5 separate regions of the Homo sapiens genome follow, and regions 2, 3, 4 and 5 are each linked to region 1. The links are contacts of gene promoters, found by promoter capture Hi-C in blood cells and fetal thymus (Javierre and others, 2016). All regions are on one chromosome and are shown on one strand. The core of a region is centred on a gene start or on the middle of the fragment in contact, and the rest is flanking DNA. Distances in the headings are between cores, read along the strand shown.

Region 1 (3,320 bases), core at 158-2,657:
GCTAATTTTTTTTTTATTTTTAGTAGAGACGGGGTTTCACCGTGTTAGCCAGGATGGTCTCGATCTCCTGACCTCGTGATCCGCCCTCCTCGACCTCCCAAAGTGCTGGGATTAACGACGTGAGCCACCGCGCCCGGCCGAAGAAGGATTTTTTTAAGGCATCAACCAAAAGCAGAGTATTCTATATATTACGTGGTTACCTTTTTGTGGTCTTTCTAAAAACTCAGGGAAAAAAAACTGCCGTATAATGAATATAATGAGAGTGAATTTCGCTTCTACACATAAGGCTATCCAGTTAAGAACAGGGGAAAAGCCGGGCGCGGTGGCTCACGCCTGTAATCCCAGCACTATGGGAGGCGGAGGCGGGTGGATCACGAGGTCAGGAGATCGAGACCATCCTGGCTAACACAGTGAAACCCCGGCTCTACCAAAAATACAGAAAAATTAGCCGGGCGTGGTCGCGGGCGCCTGTAGTCCCAGCTACTCGGGAGGCTGAGGCAGGAGAATGGCGTGAACCCGGGAGGCGGAGCTTGCAGTGAGCGGAGATCGCGCCACTTCACTCTAGCCTGGGCAGCAGAGCGAGACTCCGTCTCAAATAATAATAATAATAATAATAATAATAATAATAATGGGGGAAAAAATGAAAAATGGAATAAAAGCTCTCCGGCCGTAGATAACAGGCTGAAGTACTGTTCATAGGATAGATCTCTTCGCTATTTTCACCTGGAATTCTCCTCTGTGAACTCTGCAACAGACTTCTGTAGAGAGAACCCCAGATCGGTTGGGTGGTCCTTCTGATGGGTCTGGATAAACCCCTGTACAGCTGACTTAACCAAGAAGGGAAGTACATGTTGGAGCCACACGATGGCGAAAAACAATCACGAAATCCCACGCTGCCGGTAGTTAAAAGTCAGTTTTGGAAATACACAGAAATCCCTTAAAATTCCAGGAGTTCCCACTCTCTTCTCGAATATTTAAGGCCTCCTCCGCACAACATTGGAGTACACGTGTCTAGAAACAAGACAAATCTCCAAGGTCTCTGGGGTGCTTGCTGGGGTGGAGATAAGGGAAAGACCTCTCCCTGAGTCTTAAAGCATCAGTCTGCACTTCTACTCAACAAGTCGGCAGCCAAAAGTGACGACGAGAGAGCGACTCCACGTAGCGGCGCCAGGCGCGAGCCCAAGACAACCAGAGGCGGTCACAAGGTATACGCCCTTCTCCTCTTTCCACGCTTCTCGAGAGGCTCCCGCGGCCAGAACCGGAAAACAAGGAGTAACAGTCGCGTTTCAAATCTCGCAGACCTGCTGGCCGATTTCGAGTCTTCTGAAAGAGGAAGGCGAGCAAAGCCAAAATTCTCCCAGAGCGCGAACCCAAACACAGATCGCCGCTGGGGTCCAAGCGCCCTTCAACTCCGCCCGCTAGTGCCCAAGATTACCGGGAAGGAATTCAACGAATCAGTGGTGAGGTGCCGCCGCCATGCCTACTACGGGCGGAAATTTGAGAGAAAGCTTCGCACCGGTAGGAAAACTGAGGAGCAACCGAGCACGATTGGAAAGGTTGACGATAGTGGTTAAGTGGCTCGGCCTTGCCCTCAGTTAAAATGGCAATTTTAGTTGCTTCACTGATACGGAATCGGCGAGGCGCCAAGGAGGCTTCCTGCGTGGGGCCGCAGAGCGAGTCGGGAAACGATTTTAAACTGAAGAGGCGGCGGAGGGCCGAATTCCCTTTTCTCAACGGCTTGATTTCAGAGCTGGGCTGGTCTCTGACAGGCTCAGCTGGAGAGGGACGGGTTGGGACGCACTGTCCTTTTGCCCTTCCCCCTCCGCGAGCAGAAGCTGACTCCGCAGGAGCGAGGGTCGCAGAGCTGGGTGAGCGGAAATGTCCCTCCCAGAGTGAAGTCGCAGGGCCCGCCCCGCGTCTGAGGGAGCGGAGGTCTTCCTGGGTGCGTTTGTGTCTCTTGTGAACCCACTTGTGGAGCGAGAGGGAATTTGGGAGGGCCAGGGGTTAGTCTGGCCTCTGTCTTAGCTGTCATTTTGGCGGTTTTTTTTTTTTTTCTTCAGGGGATTTCAGTCTCCACATAGTTTTGGAGCCGGACTTTTGAAGAATGATTCGTGAATCCGGAATGGGTGACAGCGTCATCACGGCATTTTATTGGTAAAGATGCTTTGTATTGGTCCCGGACCTGCTTTAACTTTGTATTTGCCCTGTTGTGTGGTCATTATCTTACAATACTTGCGTGTTGAGGTGTGTTTAAACACTACGTGCTTAACACTGGCTAAGTATTGGCATTGGGGCGGTTGGATTTAGGTATTGGTGGCAATGTAGAAAAGTGATCAAGTCAGAGCCCCTTCACGGACTAATCACAAGAGAAACAACAAAGCTTTACTTGTGTGCTGTGAACCACAACTGCAAGTGGAATTGTCAAGAGAACTAGCCCTGCCAAGCTCAGGAAAACTTCTGAGGAGATGGCACATGGAAAATGGATAAGATTTACTGAGACAAACGGGAGTAGAGAAGTGTTTTTAATTGGCGATAAGGTGAATAAAAAGGCAGGGAGAACAGTAGAGTGATCATCTGTCTAGAGTAGGGGGTGCATGTTTGGGTATAGGGCTGTCATTTAACCTCTTAAAGAATTGTCTACTGGAACTTTCTTCACTCCCATCCCCCCACCCCCCAATGTTGTATACAAAACCTTAGAGGAAGTGTATGCAGAATGTTGGATTTTGGAAAGGCTAATGTCGATGGATCTTGGGGAAGAACTGAAGTAGTAGAAAATGAACCTGGATAGGATCAGATAATAAGATCAAATACAGTAGTGCCTTGAAAGCCAGACAGGAATTCTGATTTGACTTCATATAGATGTGTGGGAACTGTTATGGGATCTCAAGCAAGGTAATGATAAAAGTGGTGACAATGAAAGACTGATGATGGATTAGGGAAAGGGGCTAAGATTGGGAACAAGATAAGTAGCTATAATTGAGAATGAAAGTGAAGCCCACATCTAAGAGGACAAGTGTATATCTTTTTAAGAAATATGTCAGAGGCCAGGTGTGGTGGCTTATGCCTGTAATCCAGCACTTTGGGAGGCCAAGGCAGGCGGATCACCTGAGGTCAGGAGTTCAAGACCAGCCTGGCCAACATGGAGAAACCCCATCTCTACCAAAAAATACAAAAATTAGCCAGGCGTGTTGGTGCATACCTGTAGTCCCAGCTACTGGGGAGGCTGAGGCAGGAGAATCACTTGAACCTGGGAGGTGGAGGTTGCAGTGAGCCAAGATTGCACCACTGCACTCCAGCCTGGGAGACAGAGTGAGACTCTG
Region 2 (3,219 bases), core at 147-2,646, 920 kb before region 1:
CTCATACATTTTCAAGATGCCTCCCATTTTTAGGAATATGTAATCCCCAGCAATTTGTTTGTTCTTAAGGGGAAAACATGTACGTAGTAGGAGTCAAAGGTTTGGAGAATTATTAAGAGTAAAAAATAAGTAAACATATTATGGCCACTTATCATTTATAGTACAAGGTCTAACTCCAAATGCAAAATAATAACCAACATCTACTGAGTATTTTGTATGTGCCAAGATATGAATTAATTACATTAAAGGCATGTCCCTATTTCATCCCACAACCACCTAAAATTCCATTTTATACACAAGGAAATCAAGATTTAGAGAAATCAAAGTAACTTTCCTAAGTCCAATAGCTAATAAGTGCAGATCTAGGATTTTAACCTAATTCCAAAAGTGATACTCTAAACAATTAAGTTAGAGAAGATGATTCAATGAATATGTGAATGAATGAATAAATCTCTTATTTGGATATTATTTAATGTGTCCTCTACTTCCTAAAGGATTAAAGTGATTCTTTCCATTTAAAGGCAAGTAAATTTTGAGAGCAGAGAGTAAAAAGATAACAAATAAGTGACTTCTACCAGAACTAAATTCTATTATTTGTTTCCATATTGAAAACACTCAAAAAAAGTAGCTGACTGCTTGCAGTATATGAGGCAACAAAAACCCAACTTGCTGTGGGAAGAAAGGGTCACCACCTTCCTCTAATGACAACAGATTGAGATCAGCCTTGCATGCATGACGAAGTAGCTTTTTAACTGATTTGGATACTGCTATTTCAAAATTCAATTACATTCTGGCATCATCTTTGCTTTAAAGAACACCTACAAGTAATTGCCCCAAATTGAATAATTGCTCCAAAGTGCAGATCATGATGTTCTTGGGTAGGCCAAGGATTAAGCACCCACAATCTTGCATAAAATAACAGCTGACAGTAGAGCACTCACTGAAACAAAGACACTGAACATTCTGGCTCTGATAAGCAGGCAATCGTGGGTTCAGAGAGAGCTGACAGATTGTGTGAGAAGCTGTCAAAAACTTAAGCTGACAGCACTGAGAACAAATGCTGAAAAGGTAGTGTCAAAAAGTACCAAGTGTGCATCAGCACCTGGGTTCTTAGGAATCAAAATAAAAGGGAAATAATGGAAATCCTAACAACAAGTCAATAAACCAAATTACCAAATTATCAAACCAAAAATGGCCAAAGTAAATGGAGCAGGTTCACAGACAAAGCTAGAGGAAATGGGGTTCTGTCCTTTCTGACCCATACAAAAGAAAACATACCACCCTAGGAAGAGATAATGACTAAATGAGATAGCATACATCAAGTGAACTGAGTATTTGGTAAATATTCGATAAACACTAGCAATTATTATTATTAGGTTCATGTATTTATTGCCCATTATATCCAGTATTTTATATTTTTCACTTAATCCTCTCAACAGCTCTATGGCATATGTATTATTGCCACCATTTTAGAGATGGCTAAACTGAAGCTCAGAGACAGAACACTGTTAGTAAATGGTAAAGCCAGGCTATAACTCAGGTCTATCAGACTAAAGCAAATCCAGGCTTTTTTCCACTAATTCCATCTTGAGTGCCAACTCAGTGAGACTTTTGTTAGATATCTGTGATGGATTAAAGAGTCACAATTATTTGATGCTTCTCCATTGAGAGTTAAGGTCTCTGTTCTCTCATTTCAACCTGGGCAGACTATGGTACTGCTTTTACCAGTAGAATATGGTGGAAGTGATGCCATGCTAGTTTATGTGCCCAGGCCTTCAGATATTGACAGCTTTCATGTTCAGTCCCTTGGAGCACTCACTTTTCGAAGCCAGCTACCATATAAGAAGTGCAATTATACTTATACTCCCATGCTCTCTAAGGAACCAAGCAATCAAAAGAAGGCCTGGAGAACCAGATTTCATCAGTAAAGAAGAAAGACCAAGAATCACCAAAGTGGTAGATATGTGAGTAAAGAAGTCATCTGGAAGTGAATCAGGTGGTCCAGCTGATGCCAAGTGGATCAGAGATGAACCACACAGTTGAATTCCAAAATTTCTGACTCATGAGATTGTAAGAAAATAAATGATTGGTTTTAATTACTTTTTTTCACTTGGAAATAATTTCGGATTTAGAAAAACTTTGCAAAAACAGTACCAAGAAGTCCTACATATCCTTCACTCAGTTTTACCCAAACATTAACATCTTACATAACCATAGTATAATGATCAAAACCAAGAAACTATTATTTTTATCAAATGCTCCACTAATGCCCTTTTTCTGGTCCAGGATGCAATTCTGGATTATATATTGAATTTGGTTGTCATGTCTCCTTAGTCTCCTTTCATATGGGACCGTTTTCAGTGTTTATTTTTCATGACCTTGATGCTTTGGAAGAGTATTGGCCAGTTATTTTATAAAATGTCCCTCAACTCGATATGTCTACTGGTTCCTTATGATTAAATTCAGAATATGTATTTTGGGCACAAATACCACAGAAGTGATGCTGTGCCCTTCTCAGTGCATTCTATCAGGAGGTTACATAACATCACTATATGTCTCACTATAAAAATCATTGTCCTTTTAAAGCCACTCAGTTTTCGTATAGCTTGTTATATATTACAGGTAATCAAAAGAAAATCCATTTGGCTTCTCTGATAAATTTCTTGCTGCTATGATCTATAAAGCAATGCATTGTTTCAAAGAAAGTAGTGAAAGTGACAGATAATTAACACGCAAAAAGAAATAAGTTAATACTAGCTGCTCTTAAATACAGGTTCTACAGCAAGAATATTTAGAATATTAGCCAAAAATTCTTTTACTTTATTCTGCTTCTCATGTTTTAATCTCTTTGAAAGTTTAATATTTTAGGTTGGCTAATGGTGCTTGATGGAGTAACTAAATAAAAGAATGTGATGTTTGGGTTTTGTTCTGAATGTCCACTAGAGGTCAGGATTGCAGCACTGAAAATCAATCGCTTTTTTTTTTTTTTTTTTTTTTTTTTTACGTATTTCACAGACCAACATAGTAGCCTTGTATACAAATTGAGACATGCTGTTTTAAAACCCTTATGGCTAAGTCCTCCCTTATTTTTACTATTAATTTACTAACATATACCAAAAAAAAAGGATGACTCCCACCCTTCCTTTCCTCTAGCTTAATTATATATTTTCCATTTTATTATAGTTATTTGTTATACAGTTTTTTCATAAATGACTAGTG
Region 3 (2,945 bases), core at 268-2,767, 570 kb after region 1:
TGGGAACAGTTGTTCCCTAATTGTAGTCCAAGCCAACCTGCAGTAAATATAGACATTGAGAAATTTCCTATGCAAGGCAAGTAAACGTTCTTCCAACCTAGATTCAGGGCAGAAGTGCAGTGAGTATGTAACCATTTAATATCTAGTATTGCACAGATAATTATCTCAAAGGAAGAGAAAAATGGTGGAAAGGCTCCTTAAGGAATTCCCTATATTTAATTTCAGCAAATAATTATGTATTTTAATAATTTCAACAATCAGAGCTTCACATCTCTGATTAGATTTGTATGAAGATTATATGAAGCTATATCAAGAGATCCAAAATTAAGCTGTTAAGCGTTCTTCCAACATAATTATTGAAAATTGGACTTACCTTGTAAGATAGACTTTCTGGAAGACTTTATTTTTTCCCTCCCTCCTTTCTTTTCTATTTTTCTTTCTATCATGAGAGTTGAGGACTGGAACTATTATAAAAAGTGGAAGAATCAGTATTTTGACAGTATTATCTATTAACATAAAACATTTGATCTAGTTAGCCAACTAAAACCATCTATTAACATAAAACATTTGATCTAGTTAGCCAACTAAAACCATCTATTAACATAAAACATTTGATCTAGTTAGCCAACTAAAACCTGCCTAAAATTCAAGCCACACAATAACAGGGCATTTACCTTATTTTCCAATCATAATTCTCTGTCTTCTAGAAAGGACTTCAACAAAGGACACGTTCCTGTGTTTCTTTCCAGGGAAAATAGGTTGCCATATAGGGTAGGCACAAATCCTTATAATGGCAATTGACACAGGGGCCTTAGTCTTAAGCATTGACTCCTCCACAGTAGTGTCATTGTAAAAACCACAAAAATGATCACAATAACCATAAGAACTAACACTTATTGACAATTTCCCAGGTACTCTGCTGTGTCCTTTATATGTATTTTCCCTTTTAATCCTTAGAATACCTCTATGGGATAGAAACTGTTACCATCCCTATTGTACATATAAGGAAAATAACACTTAGATTAAATAACTATTGCAAGGTCACACAGCTGCAAGGGCTAGAACTGGGACTGAAACCATGTCTTCCTCACATACCCTCCCCCTGGCCCCTTTCAGACATCTTGAGGGCCCACCTTGGTCAGCCCTTCCCACATGTGAGATTGCCTCATCTATTCACCAAATAGGTATTGAGTACTATGTGCTAGGCACTGTCATAGAAAATGGGGGTTCAATAATGAACAAGATCAGTCTCTGCTATCAAGGGGCTCAAAGATTAATTCAATTTCCCTTCAATTTTTTCTGTAACAAGATTTCTTTTCAGATTTCTTTCTTGGGCAATTAACAAGAAGTGAAAATTTAGATGCCTGTACAGAACCTGCAGTTAAATGGTGTGAAGTATGCCAGGCAAAGGTAGAATTCTGGGAGCAAAGCTGTTTTTATTTTGACCAAATGCACACATCTGCCTAGTTTTTGCCATATTAAACACCTGGCGGCTTTATAGTATCTATGGACTGTATTTGTGCCTTCATTTTCAAACGTTTCCAAACCTAAGTGTTCATCAGAATCACCTGTAGGGCTTAAGACAGACTGCTTAGCCCCATCCCCAGTTTCTGATTCAATAGGTCTTAGGTGGGGCCTCAGAATTTGCATATCTAACAAGTTCCCAGGTGACATGGATGGTGCTGATGTGGGGACTACATTTTGAGAAACATTGTCAGGCCACCTATGCATAATTTTAGTCTTCCTATTATATTAGTTATATTATTTCTGGTGAGATTCCTAAGGAGTTTAGTCTCTCAATAGACATTTGATCTTAAAAGCCCCAGATCTCATACTACTTCTCTCCCTTCAATCCTCCAAAAAATATTTATTGAGATCTGTGTTAAGAAACTGGAGAGGCCGGGCGCGGTGGCTCACGCCTGTAATCCCAGCACTTTGGGAGGCCGAGGTGGGCGGATCACGAGGTCAGAAGATCGAGACCATCCTGGCTAACATGGTGAAACCCCGTCTCTACTAAAAATACAAAAACTTAGCCGGGCGTGGTGGCAGTCGCCTGTAGTCCCAGCTACTCGGGAGGCTGAGGCAGGAGAATGGCGTGAACCCGGGAGGCGGAGCTTGCAGTGAGCCAAGATGGCGCCACTGCACTCCAGCCCGGGTGACAGAGCGAGACTCCGTCTCAAAAAAAAAAAAAACAAAAAAACAAAAAATGAAACTGGAGATACTGAAATGAATAAGACAGTATGGCTGGTAGCTTTGTACATATAAGACATGATTTTCTGTCTCTTAACCTCTATTTCTATATTCTCTTTCAGTATAATCTGTTCAATTTATTGAAATTTGTTTCAGGGTGATGAGCTAAATTATAAGTTAAACTAAGAATTCACCTACATTTTATTAATGTGTTAAATGGTAAAATTAATGAAAACCTTTAAAAGTTTTCATAGAACAAATAAAAATAAACAAGTAGATTAAAATAAAGATCTCAATTTAGTCACTAGATGCCGTATATATAGGATAGTTAGCTATCGAATGGCTTCTCAGGTGCACTGACGAACAGGGAGTATGCTCAGCACTAAATTTTCTTTGGAAAAGTACACATTTGAAGATTTAAGAGGTTCAGGAACTTTTTTTTTTATTTTAAGTTCAGAGGTACATTTGCAGAATGTGCAGGTTTGTTACATAGGTAAACATGTGCCATGGGGGGAAATAGAACATATTATTCTTATGAGTTATCAGTATGACTACCATCGATACTGCCAGTATCACCCAATATTTATTAAGTGTTGACTGTGTGTCAAGAACTATGGTTCGTGTTAATGATGCATTATCTCTTCCTGCTCACGAACTCTGTGAAGCAGGTACTATTATTATCTCCATTTTTACTAAGGCTTTAGGCAGATTTAATACTAAGTGTTGGTACTGAGTGTAGTCTTGCTGCTAAAGGC
Region 4 (3,008 bases), core at 238-2,737, 620 kb after region 1:
CTTTGTATCATTTAATAAGAGAAAGAGGAGTTTGCCTGAAAAAAATATTGTTTCAGATTAGCTTAATTTAAATGTCTCCATGTCATTTAGAAAGTTTTTAGAAGTTCTTTTTTAACAATAGACCTGCAAATAAGATAATTTCAAAGGCATTTGAATTTGCTTTTCATAAGCAAATCTTTGAGAATTAAAAAATTAACATCTGAAGTTGACTTGGCTTGTCATAAGGCATTTTGAGGCTTCTAAAGGAGGTATTAAACATATAGAATCATTGAATTTGGGGGCAGGTATTAGATATAGTCTATTTACAGATAAGAAAACAGAAACCTAGAGAGGGTAGGTGAACCATTCGTGACCACTTAGCTGGTTAATTCACCAGAACTCCTGATTCCTACACTATGGTTCTTCTTATTATCAATGAAACCATCCTTACACAGATTTTTTTCCATTGAGTGTTTACTTGTGCTAGGTACCATTTGAGGCACTGGCGATATAAACATCCATTGGAGAAGGTTTTTGAACTATTTACACTCACAGTCAAGATGCAGGGTGGGGACAAAAGAGTGACATGCTCAAGGGACAATGGGAAGATGAGAGGAGGGAGGAGGGAGGGCTGCCTCAGCCTTCTGGGGAGTCAGGAAAACCTGCAGGAGGAGATAATGCTTCAGCTAATACTAGAAGGAGGAGGATAAATTATTTAAGCAGACAAGCGGATGGGAATTGGTGGGTAGGGGTAGAAGGCTTACTAGGCAGAACAGCAAGTTTTTCTGAATAGCTCAAGTTGAGTGTTCCTGTGGGAAAGTGGTGGAGATGAAGCTGAAAAGCTGGGGAGGTGGGGAGCAGTTCACAAAGGATCTTGTGAATCATGCTAAAGGAACACGCTTCATTCTCTCCTACGCCAAAGGAAATACAGGAAAAATTACCAACATTGTTACCTCTCCAAATTTTGCTTCTCTTGTGTAGTCTGTATTTTGGCAAATATAGAAAGTGAGTCTAATCTGAACAGCACTAGGGGGCACCACAGTAAAAGTAACGATTCTCTTGTGTCTGAAGACAGCTTATCCTCTTTTCCTGAAGAGTTGATTAGAAAACTTCTCAGGCAGTCAAGTGCTCATCCACAAATAAGAGAATGAACAATATCAGGGGCAGCTAATATTATTCACTATTTGCAGAGTGATGATATTTTCTAAATGAAGTGTTTAGATATATGTTTTGATCTGGGTATTCAAAATAGGACAGAATAATTTGGATGGGGATGATGCTGGAAAATATTGCACGTGTATGCACATATAGATCCAAATATACACACACAGAGGAGAGTTGGGAAACAAGCCAAAAGGCTCTAGGTATAGATCTAGGGATACAATCTCTCTGTTCCTCTTCTCTGACCTCAGCTGCTGGTTACTAGTACTGAGTAGACCCAGCCTTGTTTAGGGGCTGGCCACCTTGGCCTTCCACTTCTTCTTCTTCTTTTATATATATGTGTATGTGTGTGTGTATATATATATATGTATATATATATAGCAATTACTTCTCTCTCAAATGACAGCTTACCCCACTTCAGGGATTCTCCATTCATGGAAAATGAAAGTTAATCCTTTTGCATCATTTGGGTTAGAGGAGCTACATACAGTGTTGTTATTACTGTTTAATGAGGGAAAAATAACCCAGCTGAGTTGTAGGTGGAAAGGTTTATGTTTCCATAGTCACTAATGAAATACATGGTAGAGTTGGATTGAAACTGAATTTTCTACCATCCTATGCTTTGTATATTTCGTTTGTAATCACCCATGCTTTTGATAACCAATCTTTTCAAACAAAGGAATTAAAACATTTGCTTATACAAAGCTATAAAACATCATCTCAGATTTTGGAGGACTCATTGAAGTATAAAGGGAGTGCCCTGGGCCAGGAACCAGAATTTTTCAGTCCAGGCTTTTACCTCTTGACCCCAAGTAAATTTCTTGAAATTCCCTGGGCATCAGTTTAATCATTTCCAAGACTGGAATTTGGTTGTGGTGAGGATTAATTGATACACAGCTTTGTAAATGCTAAGATTATTATTATCATTATCCATGAACATGCTTCCGTTAACATACTGCTACTAAAATGTTGACTTTATAGTATGTGTGTGCACACATACACACACACTGTAACTCAAATCTCAGAAAGCATATCAAAGTTAATGTTAACCATAACTTCATGAACCTTGATTTCCCCAATGTAATTTTTAGGATTAAAAAATCCACCTTGGAAGAGTCCTATTATTTTTAAACATAGATTTCTAATTAAGATTTCATGGGTGCATTAGAGAGCAAAAGAATGAAGGGGAGAATTTATGAGGTTATGAAGTGTGATTAGGTTCAGTGTCTGCACGTGGTTCAGAGATCTAAAATTACGTACTCAGAGCACATGGCTTAGGCTATTTCCGTTTCTTCTTATTTTGATATATTTCATCCAATTCTCCAATGACTTGGCTACCAAATAAGGCAGGAAATTAGATTTATAAGAGGCATATCATCTGGTTCACTAATCTAGAAACATTGGGGAATATTCCTGGCATAACTAAAATCTTTTTTCAGTAGGCCTTTCATTCTGAAATGCACCTTAATTTTTATAAGTTTGCCTAGCTTGATAACATGCAAATGCTATTTAAGAACACATGCTTCTTGACAGAAAGATGGACAAACAAATCTGAACTTTAATTCTTCTTATACTAATTTAATAAGATCTTGTGGTTAGAGAGCCTTCATTCCCAAAGTACTATATTGTACAGGTGGGGAAGTGAGGGCTCCAGTGAGTTTAAGTGATGTAGCCTCAGGGCTGGGCTCCCCAGCGGCAGCCAGACCTTCATCCTAGAAAGCCAGTGAAACAGTGTCAAAGATCAAGATGGAATGACAATATTACAAAAATGATAAAGAACATCAAAACATGCATCAAAGGAAAGCATCTTAATGAGATATAAAATAAGTCATAAAACATGTATTTTACAGTTTAGTAATGTAAAACAT
Region 5 (2,964 bases), core at 6-2,505, 950 kb before region 1:
GTCAAGAGCAGAGAATATTTTAATTTCATGATGATTTTTGACAGTGAGTTCATTTTCATTAGCCTAAATTCAATTATTTGTTCATATAGCAATGGCTCTTGGTTGCTCTGGCTCTGCTTCTATCCTATTCAACCAAGGACATTTTTAAATTGGGACAACTATCTTTGAACATACAATAGAATATGCTTAATTCAAACAACTTGAATTAAAAAACCTGTTTTCACTCATAGTATGATGTCAACATAGATTTGTGGAATGGAGACTGATTTCACTATAATTTAAGGGTCTCCTGCTGTATAACGTAAAAAGGCATGGAATTTTTAGTGAGAGCCACCTGGCTTTTATTTATTTATTTGTTTATTACTTTTTAGATAACGGGTCTCACTATGTTGTTCAGATTAGTCTTGCACTCATGGGCTCAAGTGATCTTTCCACCTTAGCCTTCCAAGTAGCTAGGATTACAGGCATATGTCGCCATGCCTGGGATTTGAGTATCAAGTAGGATATAATCTCTTGTTCACAGAGCAATTGTAAGGTTTAAAATAAACACACACACACACACACACCCCATAGCTTAGAAGTTAAGAACACTGCCTCTGTAGTAAGACAGGCCTAGTTGTGATTGTGGTATGTCATTTGCCTAACTGAATGACTTTAACCAAGTTTTTTAACTTTTTATAAGTCTTAGTTTCCTAATCTGTAAAATGAGCATATTGATTCATACCAACAAGTCAATACAGTATTAACAGTAATAGAATCACTGATAAAATAGTAATACAATATTAACAGTAATAGAATTATTGTTAAAATTAGGATTTCTTTTAATTAATGTCAGTAAAAAAATTAAGGGTCATACACTATGCTAAGTGAAATATGCCAGAGATAAGACAAATACGATATAATTCCACTTACATGAGGTACCTAGAGTAGCCAAATTCATAGAGACAGAAAGCAGAATGGTGACTGCCAGGGGCTAAGGGGAGAAAGGAATGGGGAGTTACTATTTAACAGGTGCAAGAGTTTCAGTTTTGCAAGATGAAAAAAAGATCTGGAGATGGATGGTGGTGATAGTTGCACAACAATGTCAATTTACCTAATGTCACTGAACTGTGTACTTAGGAATGGTTAAAACTGTACTTTTTTTTTTTTTTTTTTTTTTTTTGAGATGGAGTCTTGCTCTGTTGCCCAGGCTGGAGTGCAGTGGTGCGATCTCAGCTCACCACAAGCTCCGCCTCCCGGGTTCAAGCGATTCTCCCATCTCAGTCTCCTGAGTAGCCAGGCACACGCCACAACACCCGCTAATTTTGTATTTTTAGTAGAAATGGGGTTTCTCCATGTTGGCCAGGGTGATCTCGAACTCCTGACCTCAGGTGATCCACCCACCTTGGCCTCCCAAAGTGCTGGGATTACAGGCCTGAGCCACTGCCCTGACCAAAATTGTACATTTTATGTTACGTATATTATACTACAATAAACAAAATTAAAGGTAGTGAAGATTAGTTATTTTTTTTTGTTTTGTTTTTTGTTTTTTTTTGAGACAGTCTGACTCTGTCGTCCAGGCTGTAGTGCAGTGGCGTGATCTCAGCTCACTGCAACCTCTGCCTCCCGGCTTCAAGCAATTCTTTGCCTCAGCCTCTCGAGTAGCTGGGATTACAGGCACCCACCACCAGGCCCGGCTAATTTTTTGTATTTTTAGTAGAGATGGGGTTTCACCATCTTGGCCAGGCTGGTCTTGAACTTCTGACCTCGTGATCCACCTGCCTCGGCCTTCCAAAGTGCTGGGATTATAGGCGTGGGCCAATGTGCCCGGCCGTGAAGATTAGTTTTAAAGTGCTTAGCACAGCATCAGATACATTTTAAGTGCTCAATAAATGATAGGTGTCTTACTATTAATTTTATTTATTAAACATTTAAAAAATGCATTTGAGAGCTCATTACAAACTGTTTAAATGCTACACAATTATATTGTTATTGATGGTAGCTGTCAGATTTTTTTTACATAGATCCAACACATTGCTTGGATATCTAGAAATACCTGATAGAATGATCACAGTGCAGAGGTGTGAGTGCTAGAAAATACACACACTAACATTTCACTAATGTAGAACAAATGGGTTGTTTATATTCAAGTATGGTTATAAAGAGATTTTTAAGTTGAAATGAAAACATTTTGGTGGTATTCATCTTGAAGTATAACAAATAAAATATTCCTTTGCTCCTAATTTTATTATATTGTTCTGTAAACACTTTTTTTTTTGTAAAAGAGGCAAAGATAAATTTAGCCAAGCACTTAAACAACAAACATGCAAATTATACAAAGATTCTTATCTACTCATTAAAGGACTGAAATGGTTATATAAGACATACAAACATACACACATATACACACACCTATAGCACAGATTGACACAGCTGGCATGACATAAATTTAGAGCATGCTTCCCTGTCTCTTTATTTTATAAGTTAGGAAATTAAGTGTTAAAAGGTTAGATGATTTGATTAAAATTCCACAATAAATTGATGGCAGAAATGTAATTAAAGCCCCTCAGAATCGTATCCTGCGCATCCCCCTCAAATGTGCCATGGCAAAGGACTTGCCTCAGCCATTCTTCCTCATTCCTCTTCTACATGCTGTTCACTCTCACCCTCATGTCCTATTCTCAGGTTAGATGCCACCTTTGGAAAATGTTTACTAGTTTCCCAGAATGAATTTGGCATTCTGCCTTTAGGCTCCCAAAGATCCCTTTTAAACCCCAGGATCAAACACACTGAATTCTTATGTCTGTGTGCCTCCCCTATTAGATGTGACAACTTCAGGACACAGAATGTCATCTCTGTATCCCCTGACATCTAACCCAGGGACTGTCAATAGTGAATATCTGTTGAATAAGTGAACTAACTAACCATCACAGGCTTCTCCAAAGAGAGACAGGAAAGATGGGATCAAGGACATAGTGAGGAAGT

The links. Contacts are between HindIII fragments. The CHiCAGO score rates a contact against its expected background, and 5 or more counts as called.
Region 2: a fragment that was not itself captured here is called in contact with the fragment with the promoter of DARS2 in region 1 in 1 of 17 cell types (neutrophils); the score reaches 9.8 in neutrophils.
Region 3: a contact is called between a fragment that was not itself captured here and the fragment with the promoter of DARS2 in region 1, in 1 of 17 cell types (M2 macrophages). The highest score is 5.1, in M2 macrophages.
Region 4: a fragment that was not itself captured here is called in contact with the fragment with the promoter of DARS2 in region 1 in 3 of 17 cell types (naive B cells, megakaryocytes and total B cells); the score reaches 7.6 in naive B cells.
Region 5: a fragment that was not itself captured here is called in contact with the fragment with the promoter of DARS2 in region 1 in 1 of 17 cell types (neutrophils); the score reaches 7.0 in neutrophils.

The regions. Positions count from the first base shown.
Region 1 is chr1:173,822,760-173,826,079 of GRCh38, reverse strand. DARS2 (aspartyl-tRNA synthetase 2, mitochondrial) reads right to left here and starts at 1,407. Exons shown (of 17, transcript NM_018122.5): 1 at 724-1,407. The coding sequence starts at 850. It overlaps CENPL (centromere protein L), which reads left to right and starts at 1,197. Exons shown (of 6, transcript NM_001387287.1): 1 at 1,197-1,868; 2 at 2,061-2,154. RefSeq lists enhancers at 1-25, 667-1,184, 891-1,450, 1,185-1,703, 1,681-1,920. The HindIII fragment of the contact is 2,471 bases long and covers 1-1,510 here.
Region 2 is chr1:174,743,874-174,747,092 of GRCh38, reverse strand. The region is part of intron 17 of RABGAP1L (RAB GTPase activating protein 1 like); the gene reads right to left. Among named protein-coding and RNA genes, the nearest start is that of RABGAP1L-AS1, 210 kb to the left of the region's middle. The HindIII fragment of the contact is 4,626 bases long and covers 1-3,219 here.
Region 3 is chr1:173,249,711-173,252,655 of GRCh38, reverse strand. The region is part of intron 2 of LOC100506023 (a long non-coding RNA gene); the gene reads left to right. It also overlaps a transcript of TNFSF4 not described here. Among named protein-coding and RNA genes, the nearest start is that of TNFSF4, 44 kb to the right of the region's middle. The HindIII fragment of the contact is 3,518 bases long and covers 1-2,945 here.
Region 4 is chr1:173,200,558-173,203,565 of GRCh38, reverse strand. The region is part of intron 1 of TNFSF4 (TNF superfamily member 4); the gene reads left to right. Among named protein-coding and RNA genes, the nearest start is that of TNFSF4, 5.3 kb to the left of the region's middle. The HindIII fragment of the contact is 4,156 bases long and covers 1-3,008 here.
Region 5 is chr1:174,770,766-174,773,729 of GRCh38, reverse strand. The region is part of intron 18 of RABGAP1L (RAB GTPase activating protein 1 like); the gene reads right to left. Among named protein-coding and RNA genes, the nearest start is that of RABGAP1L-AS1, 180 kb to the left of the region's middle. The HindIII fragment of the contact is 3,621 bases long and covers 1-2,964 here.